Linked DNA regions of Homo sapiens: region 1 is linked to region 2. The links are contacts of gene promoters, found by promoter capture Hi-C in blood cells and fetal thymus (Javierre and others, 2016). All regions are on one chromosome and are shown on one strand. Each heading gives the region's core, a stretch centred on a gene start or on the middle of the fragment in contact. The rest is flanking DNA. Distances are from core to core; before and after follow the strand shown. Region 1 holds the start of PLAAT1 (phospholipase A and acyltransferase 1). Region 2 overlaps ATP13A4 (ATPase 13A4).

What was found. The method cuts DNA at HindIII sites, captures the fragments that hold promoters and counts their contacts. A CHiCAGO score of 5 or more calls a contact.
Region 1: the fragment with the promoter of PLAAT1 here is called in contact with a fragment that was not itself captured in region 2 in 1 of 17 cell types (endothelial precursors); the score reaches 5.1 in endothelial precursors.

The regions. Positions count from the first base shown.
Region 1 is chr3:193,237,572-193,243,365 of GRCh38, reverse strand. PLAAT1 (phospholipase A and acyltransferase 1) reads right to left here and starts at 2,144. Exons shown (of 4, transcript NM_020386.5): 1 at 1,833-2,144. MGC2889 (a long non-coding RNA gene) reads right to left here and starts at 1,587. Exons shown (of 1, transcript NR_026877.1): 1 at 1-1,587. LOC105374280 (a long non-coding RNA gene) reads left to right here and starts at 2,343. Exons shown (of 3, transcript XR_924833.3): 1 at 2,343-2,471; 2 at 3,521-3,616; 3 at 4,832-5,794. RefSeq lists a silencer at 1,993-2,242. The HindIII fragment of the contact is 3,333 bases long and covers 1,358-4,690 here.
Region 2 is chr3:193,458,583-193,463,620 of GRCh38, reverse strand. It overlaps ATP13A4 (ATPase 13A4), which reads left to right. Exons shown (of 30, transcript NM_032279.4): 13 at 798-859; 14 at 4,390-4,540. Among named protein-coding and RNA genes, the nearest start is that of ATP13A5, 82 kb to the right of the region's middle. The HindIII fragment of the contact is 2,065 bases long and covers 1,097-3,161 here.

The sequences.
Region 1 (5,794 bases), core at 895-3,394, 220 kb after region 2:
AAATATCTGTAACCTGTCTGATTGGGTAAGTTTTACATGGACCACATCTACCAATTTCATTCAGACAAATTGTGTAATGCAGTGCTTCATAAGTATGAGAAAACACAGAACCAATTAAAGACACATTTATAACATCCTCTACTACAATCTTTAAGGTAAAAAAATGCTTCATTTTGAGTCCATCTGCAAAGAACTGTATGAACAGTTTATAATAAAGAGTGGCATGAAGGTTAAGTCTGTAATCTTTGTATAAGAAATTTCCCATTTCAACTGGCCAACTGGCAAAACAGGCTGCTGTCTTTATAGCTCTCTGTTGGTCCCTGGGGATGCATCAAAATAAATAAATGTTCCCTGCCGATAGGGACAGGCTGAACGTCTGCTCATGCCTAAGAGGCCACCCAAGTTACAGAAACACGAAGAGCACTTTTTTAACAACTACTCCCAAGAATGTTACTGGAAGTCTGAAACACAATCGCAGGTGATCACAGGCTACCCCTGGCCCAAGGCTTCTAATTAGGTTTCGACCTTTTCCCATTCCAGCTGCACTTTCCATCCATAATCCTCCTACACTGTGATGTTTCCATGAAGCCCTGTATTCCCAGATTGGCTAATTCATAGACTCTCAGTGCTGCAAAGATCCTTGGTCCAACACTCTCACGCTACAAAGGAGGGTTCCACTCCTTGGCCAAATTAACTATCCGCTGCCACAGCACTGTCATGCCTTGCTTGGAATCTTCCAGGGCTTCCCACCACTGACTCCCCATCTTGGTCCCCCGCCCTAGAATCCTGGCATCCTTATTAATCTCTACATTCTAGGCAAATCAAACTATCCATTATTCTTCCCACTCAAGAGTATTGTTTTGTTTTTGTTAATACTGAACCTTCTACCCAGAATGCCCATTTCCAAGTGCCCCAAATGACTCAATCTTAAAAAATCCAAGTCGATGCCACCTTCTCCCCCTCTCTCCTCCACTCCCCAGGTCGGATTGTCTTCCTCCGATCCGCCTTCTTTAGCTTCCACAGGCATCCATCTAATGGCCCATTCACTTCCTACACCTGCCTCAGCTACTGGTCTCTGGGAAATTGTCTCTTGTGGGGCATACGCTATGGAGGGATGCTTCTTGTTTTTCTCTATACCATGCGTCCGATCTTTTGGCTTCCCTGAGCCACACTGGGAGAACTGTCTTGGGCCACACATAAAATACACTAACTCTAATGATAGCTGATGAGAAAAAAAAAAAAAGCGCAAAAAAAAAACCTCTCATAATGTTTTAAGAACATTTACAAATTTGTGTTGGGCGGCATTCAAAGCTGTCCTGGGCCGCACGCGGTTAGTGAGCCACGGGTTGGACAAGCTTGCTCTATACCTTCAGTCTCCGGTGAGAGTGCCTCGCACAAGTAACTGCGGAGCAAATGTTCATTGAATGAAGGAATGAGGAATCCAAGCCCAGAGAAAACATGAGTGACTTTTTCCAGCACGAGTCATATTAATAGTCTCGCATGCCAAAGGAATATCACCATCCAACTTTCCAAAATCCAATACGATAATAATTACTTGTATTATTATTCATATTCACTTCAGTGAGGACAGTAGGCTTAAAAAGCCTTAAACAGGTTGGGTTTCTAGTCCCAGCTCTGCCACTTAATAGCTGTGTAACCTAGGGAAGAAAGTCTCTTGCCCTGTGGACTGAGTTCCCCAGTCTGTGAAAAAGAGGAGGGTGGATAAGCTCCGTTGTTCTCTAGTCATGTCAACTTTTCCCACTTGCCAGTTGGTTAGAACACGGTTGGTTGCCGGGGCGCCTCGAGGTCCTCCCCCACTCCGCCCAGCACACCTCACTCTCAAGCCGGGGTCTTCTTCTCGCACCGGGAGGCAGCTGTGTGTGTCCTGGGGTCTCTCTTGGCCTCGCAGCTGCCGACCTTGCCGCCGGCGGCCGCGGGACGACTCCATCTGTACCCGGGAGACACCCGGGAGGCAGGCGCCAGCCATCACTCGGGGCCGTCCTCCAGGGCCAACGCCAGCACCAGCGCCGCCACGCTGAAACGGTCCCGGCGGCCCCTCCGCGGCTCTGAGACGCCCGCACGCCGGGGGGCCGACGCGCTGGGCTCGGCGTCCGGGCGCTGCCGAGCCGGCACGAGGCTCTGACCATGGGGAGCCGCCCGCTCCGCCCAGGAGGCGGGGCACAGTCGCTCCGGCTAGACCTCGCTTGGCCCCGAGCCCAGCTTCGCCCGCCCGCCCGCCCGCCCGCCGGGGAACTGCACCTTCTCGCGCCCCGACGCAGCCGCCTCCGCGCGCGCACGCAACGCACGCGCTCCAGCGCCTACGGTCAAAGCGCCGCGCAACCAGTTATTCCGCCCCCGGCTCCGCACCCGCGTCTCGGACGTTCCCGCAGCCAACGTTTAGGGCACCAGGCGCTGTGCTAGGCGCCGCGGTTATAAAGATAATCGGTTTTGTTGAGCCCAGGAATGTTCGGGTACACCCATCATGAGTACACCCACTCTTCTAGCCTAACAAAAATTCCCTTAGGGCCCAAGGAATCATGGTACCTGCACCCCAAGAAAGCCTCTGGGTCTTTGAGTCAGCAAAGTGGCGGAGGAAGGACTGGCCCTAAAACAACCTCACTGCTTACACACACCACACCACACACACACACACGCCAGATAGCCAGCAGAGACCTCCAACCACACACACACACACACACACACACACACACGCCAGATAGCCAGCACAGACCTCCAGACCCCGCCCCGCCCCCCTCCCCCGGCCCCCCTCCGCCCCCACGCGCCAAATAGCCAGCAGAGACCTCCAGGATATGGCTGTGAGTTTAAAAATAAAGCTGGGGCAGGGAGAGTATCCTTTTTCTCACTGCTAAAAAAAGAGGCCAGGAATACTAACCTAGCTAAGTAAGGAACCCTTGAAGACTAAGTGAACTTTATGGAGCGCTGCACAGGACGTTGCTTCAACCTAGTCATAACTTAGATTTTTATTCTGATGTAAATGGAATCTCAGCTAAAAGGATTTTTTCCCACTTATTTGAAGGCTAAAAAATATCTCGCTAATTTTATGTATTTTGTCATAATGGGATAACAACTACCTAAATATGCAACTTTTTTCGTAAAGCTATTGGGTTGTGTTATGAAGGTTAAGGGTGAATCTGAGTGATCTGAAACTTTGGGTCTGGATTGGCACCTTTGGAAACAGTCCACAGAAGGACATTGAAAACGTAATTATTGACAAAGTGGAAACTAGAACACTTGAGAAGTTGTAGCTTTTTTTATGCATTAATATTTTCTTACATGTTCCTTAATATATATCCAGAGTTATAAGCTGAATCAGATATGCCTTTCAATACCCTTTTAATGTCTCAAAGAGAAAGCCATAAACATGCATTTGCTTTATGTTTCTCAACTATTTCGATGGAGTCATCACTGTAGGAAGTGGTTCATGATTTTATACAGGAGAGGTATTGTGAGCATTTATAAAGCCATCCTGCTTATGAGCCAAATTTATTATGTTTGCTAGGTTAATCTGTTTTCTCTAATCAAACACTTAATCATCCAGTCTCCTCTCTGCGTTATGGATTCATGAATGTGAAGTGAGGAGAGTTGCTCAGTCAAGGTAAAATGATAAATTATCTTTTCATTTTCAGGGTATTTGTGATTAAATGCTTCATAATAGAATTAAAATGAAATAAATCTTGTAATTTCACTTCTAGATTCCTGCCAGGTATAGATAAAACGCATTTGGTTAAGAACAAATTCAATTCAATGCCTGCGTGGAATTTATAGGAGAAATGTAGAAAGCGTTGTAGTTCAGGAGAGCCCTGAGTTCTCTCTTCATTTCTATGGATTGGAGAGAGAGTTGATCAATCGGTGGTACTCTACGGATGAGCAGTGGAAAATTAAAATTTCCATTAAGAAAGAATGAGGACTTAGCCTTGGGCAGTAATAGGCAAAGTTTGTCTTAATCTAGAGTTGTAATCTGGGGCTATGATTGGAGCAGATGTTAAATTACACTTAAATAAACAGTTCCTATTATTTTGGCCATTATAAGTGAAGCCCTGTGTGGCTGGCATTCTCTGTTGCTGCCTAATTTTATAGTAAGAGTTGAAACATATTGAAAAAAGCATAATGGAGATGACTTAGTCCTGTTTGTTGTTGAGTGAATAAAGTTCACATTCCAGAAAAAGCCCTATAAGGTAACAAAAATTACAATTGGCTTTTTAACACATGGAAACTCAAACCAATTGGCATTGTGTGATATTAGACAGAGGCCTCAAACAACCCTATATGTTTTGTGCATATTTTACAATTAGCAAAGCGCTTTGATTCTGTTGTCTCATTTGATCCTCTCAGCAAACTTGTGACTGCTCAGTCCTGGCAGTTGGTGTGAGGCCTGAGATGTGGAGCTCTGTATTCCAGTTCTCCTGGGGTAGAACTGAAGTCAGGCCTCTTAGGCAAGAGCTCTTCCCCTACCCAGACTCCCTCTTTTATCAGACAGCAAAAGAAAAACCTTTTTTTTAATAGGTTTTCAAAACCACAAAAATAAAAGAGCTGCACAAATAACTGAAATATTTGCCAAGATAATGCAGAGATGGTTGGCTACGTTTTATGTGAGCTAGTAAGAGTTGAGACAATCATTCCAATAGTTCCAACCTCAGCCCCTAAAATCTATGCTGTAAAAGTAAAAGCTTTTTTCTTGACTTGAATGTCCAGGCCACCTGCCTGCTCAGACTGGATTTTTTTCCTGTACAAATTACTTAACCCTCTAATTCAATCTGCTTTGTGTATTTCTGGTCAATATCATTGCAACTGAAAATCTGTTTGCTTACAGGTTTTTCACGTACTGCACATCCAAGCTAGGTAATGTCTCTGCAACTGCTGCTTCCTGATGATTATATTCATCTGAAATGACTAAGCTTGGTAAATTAGGCTAAGTCAAGTCTGTGGAGCAGTCAAGGGACGAATGAAGAAAAGAATAATGTAATGGAGGCTACACCAGAGACATGGGAATCTATCAGCATGTGGCAAGGAAGGAAGAACATAGCTATGTCTTCTATATAAAGAGTTGCCTGCATTCTTCTCAGAAAAAAAAAGACAATGGAAAGGCAATGAGTCATGAGTCTTGGGTTCTAAGCCTGGTTCTACCATTTGCTAGCTGTATGATAAGAAGCATGTTTGTTAAACCTCTGAGCCTCAGCTTATATATATACGAAACAGGAAAAATAGTAACATAGCCTGCCATCTTCACAGATTTGTGAAAAGGTCTTTTAAATATCCAAAAAGCTTAGTATGTATAAGAAAGATTAAATTGGCTGGGCGCGGTGGCTCACGCCTGTAATCCCAGCACTTTGGGAGGCCGAGGCGGGCGGATCACAAGGTCAGGAGATCGAGACCATCTTGGCTAACACGGTGAAACCCCGTCTCTACTAAAAATACAAAAAATTAGCCGGGCGCGGTGGCGGGCGCCTGTAGTCCCAGCTACTCGGGAGGCTGAGGCAGGAGAATGGCGTGAACCTGGGAGGCGGAGCTTGCAGTGAGCCGAGATTGCGCCACTGCAATCCGGCCTGGGCTAAACAGCGGGACTCCGTCTCAAAAAAAAAAAAAAAAAAAAAAAAAAGAAAGATTAAATTTAAGCTATGGGTATGACACAAAAATATACTTGAAAATTATTCTTAAATTTCACCATATTTAGGAAGTGGCTAAATATCAACATAATATTCCTACTTCTGCATTTCCTATTTCTCTCTTTGCATTTTAAATTCAGAGGAAGTTATCTCATTTATTAATTGTAACA
Region 2 (5,038 bases), core at 880-3,379:
ACACTTTATGTTATCCCATTTAATCTTCACCACAGCTCTCTGAGATTATGACCATGTTACAGATAAGAGCTCTTATATTTAGGGGGATTAATTTGCTCTGGTCACACAACTGGTGTTTAAACCTAACCTGAATTCTTAACCATAATATTGCACTGAGAGAAATACCACCACCTTTTTTTTTTTTTTTTTTTTTTTTACCAAATAGCAAACCATTTCTTTCGAGTCTGTTCACAGTGCCCTGCAGGTAAAAATTTCACTCTATTCCTTATTTTAATGACATATTTTAAACTTCTGCTATGAAACTAGGACTCACCCATTTTATATCGAGGACTTTCACATCCATTCAGTCTACCATTAGATCCTCAAAACAATCCTCTGAAGTTGTGAGGAAGATACTTTTTTTGTTGTTGTTATGGAGGACACTAAAGTTTGAAAAGATTAAGTGCCAGCTTGTTAGACAACTGGCATGAGCTCATCAACGCTTCCAACGGGCACTCCAGAGACCCACCCATTGTGCCCCTCCTTGAAGTGCTGATCTTGTTAATATGTTTGTGAAGTATTTTCTCATTACAAAAATACCTTATTTATCTGCACTACGGAGTCTTCGCTATGGGGCCACTGGATTTTTTTTTTTTTAAAATAGGGAGGTGGTTTCATTATGTTGCCCAGGCTGGTCTTAAACTCCTGAGTTCAAGTGATCCTCTTGCCTCCGCCTCCCGTAGTGCTGGGATTACAGGCATGAGCCACCGCTCCTTGCCTGGATCTTCAGAGTAAATGGAGCATTTGTTTCTGTTTAGACAGGCACCTTAACAAGGGACGGCTTGGACCTCTGGGGAGTCGTGTCCTGTGATAGGAATGGGTGAGTACCTTGGACTCTTGGACTAAATGCATTCTAGTGTCTCTTTTTCCAAAATTCCGTGTTTTCTCTTGAAATTAAGAATGGAGACATTTGGACTTTGGCTTTGGTGGACAATGATTGCCAAAGTATCTTCTTTTAACTTCTCATCTTTAATTCTTCAAAGCCTCCCTAAAACACACACATTTCCCCCCATCCCAACCCAGTCCCATGCCACTCACAAATCCTGGAGATGAAGCTTTGACACTGCATTCAAATCCTTGCTAAAATATAATTTGCTTCCAGCATGAAGTTGACGCAGTATAAGTAATTTAGACATTACCAGGACACTGTCCTTTAAGGAGGTAACATTCTTTGTTCAAGCTGAAGCCTCTTGATGTGCTAGGAGGAAGGACACTGCTCTTACTTTTGTACCCTGAATTTCAGGAAGAGGAACATTTGTAGAACCGTAGCTAGTGTACTCATGTTTCTTGGTATTCAAATTTTGAGAACTCTACTTTCTGGCTGCTGGAAACTCTCTTTTTTCTTTTTTTTTTTTTTTTGAGACGGAGTTTCACTCTTGTCGCCCAGGCTGGAGTGCAGTGGCATGATCTTGGTGCATTGCAACCTCCGCCTCCTGGGTTCAAGCGATTCTCCTGCCTCAGCCTCCCGAGTAGCTGAGATTACAGGTGCCTGCCACCATGCCTGGCTAATTTTTGTATTTTTAGTAGGGACGGGGTTTCACCATGTTGGCCAGGCTGGTCTCAAACTCCTGACCTCAGGTGATCCGTCCACCTCGGCCTCCTGAAGTGTTGGGATTACAGGCATCAGCCACTGCACTTGGCTGAAACTCCTTTTTCCTAGCAAGAAAAGACGGTTTTGACAGTTCTCAGCATGGTGTGGTAAAGATTTGCACAGTCCTCTCCTGTGGCCCTCTTGTGGCCATGTTTGAGTTTGCGTCTCTGCCCGCTTTTTCAACTCACTACGAACTCCCGTGGAATCAGAACATGAAATCTCTGATGCACTTGACGTTTATGTTTTGTTTGAAAATGAAAGTTTTTTCCTCTAACACTTATAACTTAAATCACAAAGCATTTTGTACATGAAAGGTTCTTTGTGGTTCTTTTGCATTATGACATGTAATTTATCCATAAAATGTTAATTACACATAGTTTAATAATTGTCATATTAAAATGCTATCTAGAAACAAGTCTAATTCCTGGATTAAAAAAGTGATCCTCGTGCTTCTAACCACTTTAGTGTACAGAAGAGGCCTCTGAAAGTGTTAAACTCTAAAGTTCTTTCATTTTTCCTAGAAGATAGATTTGGATATATACTTTGTCTCATGGTTCATTAGTGTTTTTCTGTTTCAGCTTCTGCAAAATATGTGTACATTTGTTCAAATATGTGAGCATCTTGAGAGCAGTCTTGTTCTTATTTAGATTTGCATCCTAAGTGCTGTAGCTCTGTACTAGGCACAAATAGTAGGTGCACAGTAATCGCTCATCTAAAATGAACTCAATATGTTCTGTCTTTTGAATGTTCTTCTTATTCCATTGACACCAAACTATTCATAAAACTTTGGAAACTTTGTTTCTAAAAGTGACTTGTTACATTTAAGGAATAACAATTAATATAATGTTTAGGTAAATGATTCATTTCCCTCCCTTCCTTCCTTCCTTCCTTCCTGCCTTGCTGCCTTCCTGCCTTCCAATCAAAGTTGAATTCCAATGATTAAAACAATTTAAAATAAAAAATGACAAATTTAATTAATAAAATGAAACAAAACAGAATTAATTCTAGGTAAGAAGTGAGCACCTGACTTATAGACTATTCAATACCTTCTTGTTAAAGGTGAGCTCATCTCTGATATTTCTTCCTTTCCAAAAAGCCCTGATTGTTGTGTCAGATACTTTAAGAACTATTAAAGGCTATCAGGGATTGATAACCAGAAATACTCAGATAAAAATGGGTGGACAGGAATGATAGAGAGCTTTATGTATTTGCTGTGCTAAACAGAGTCTGGCCCAATCCTCTCGAATGCAGAATTATACACTCAGAATTACGGACTAGTGACAGTGTACGTCTCATAGTAAAAATAAGATTTTTTTTCTGATCTGTATTTTGCTTTTCAGTGTGCGTTTAAGTTTCTGTGTTAACTGTCCTGCTGGTGGTCTCTTCCTTTTAGATATTTACTAAAATACCATTGGGTATGTGGTAAACCACCAAGATGAGCTGCTCTTTTAAGACATAGTAATAAGTATAACTAACAGGGTCAATATGAAGCCAGGACATTTTTGAACTCTTAGTGTGACAAAAGGAAGCTTGAATGCAAAAGCCAGGAAGCCATGTGGCTGAATTGTGAGTTAACACTGAGATGTGTTTGCTTTCAAAACAAAGGGCTACAGCAACTTAAGGTTATCTTTAAATAAATTCAGGGTCCATATTATCAGAAGTAATTGTCTGTCTTGAAATGTGGTCTCCAGGATCAGACAATGACAAATTTAGGAACTTTTCCAAAAAAGAAGAATAAGGAAGGTGAGAGGGAGGCCTGATCAAGCTGTTATTAGAGGAACAGCCGGAGGTTCCTGTGCGACACCAGAGGGAGAGAGGGTGAAGGGGACGGCAGAGTTGATCCCTAAGTTTGAAAGAAGTTGGCATGTGGAGGAGGGGGAGCAAGTGGACCCTTACTGGCTCCCAGGAGCAGATTCTGCCCCAATGTAGGATGAAGCTTCCACCGTTCAAACGTCCTCCTAATAGGGTAAGCTGCTTTGAGAACCAACGCCTGTGCTGCACATTTGAGAAGGGGCTGTGACTAACCAAGCTGCAGACAACATTCTTCTTGTGACGCCAAAGCTGAACTTAATGGCCTCCACTCTGAATTAGTGAAGGAAGCCTGCATATGACATTTGAGTTGTATTTTAATAGCTTTTTAGATGAGACTATGTTCTTATCTAAAATGAGATGATGGGGATAATGGTTGGGATATGGACACAAGAGGCCAGGGTGGAAGAGGGGGATGCAGTGTTCATTTGAAAAATGTTTTTAGCCGGGCACAGTGGCTCACGCCTGTAATCCCACCATTTTGGGAGGCCGACGCAGGTGGGTTAGCTGAGGTTGGGAGTTCAAGACCAGCCTGGCCAACATGGTGAAACCCCATCCTTGCTAAAAATACAAAAAATTAGCCTGACATGGTGGTGGCTGCCTGTAATTCCAGCTATTCAGGAGGCTGAGGCAGGAGAATCGCTAGAACCTGGGAGGCAGAGGTTGCAATGAATCGAGATCACGCCACTGTCCTCCTCCAGCCTGGGTGACAGAGTGATAGAGTGAGACCCTGTATCCAAAAGAAAAAGAAAAAACTCAGAGACCTTTCTCATACTCAGTGAACTTACTTGGCTGAATGAAGCACTATTAATGTGGGAGGATTGGAGAGTGGCTATTAATGCAACAAAGCATATTAAATTATTTTTTTATAAAGATGTTTGTTCACCTCCAAGATGCTCTGTTTTGGCATGAGGCGATGGAATGGAAACCCATTTCCTTTTCTCCTTAAGCTTTCAGGAAGTTCACAGCTTTGCCTCAGGCCAGGCTTTGCCATGGGGCCCACTGTGTGCAGCGATGGCCAGCTGCCACTCTCTGATCCTTCTTGATGGGACCATCCAGGGAGACCCTCTGGACCTCAAAATGTTTGAAGCCACCACCTGGGTAAGCCTCTGCTCTTCAGAGAATCTGAGAAGCTTCTTCAATGCCAGAGCAACATAGGCAATATCAGAGCTATCTAATTCTTATAAAAGGTGAGGTTTCCAATGTGGAGTACATTTGGTAGTGAAGGGCAAACCAATCTAAGGCTGGTTTCCTCATCTGTGCAATGAAGCTAATAATAGCATCTACATAATGAGATTGTGAGGATTAAATGAGATGATGCAGTAAGAAAATCCTTGGCACTATGCCTGGCAAATATTAAAGGTTCGATCATATTAATATAATTGTACTTATTATGCAGTTATTTCTTGTCTCTCTGTACTGTTCTCCGAGCATTGTCTGGTTTCGAAGATTTTCCAGAATATGGGGATCAGAAAACATTGCTTTCTCCAGTGCTCAGGATAACTCATAGATTCACGGGGACTATAAGTCTTATTTCTATTAATTTCATATTGATTTTATTTCCAAGACTAGAAAGAACAAAAAGGAAAACCACTAAAG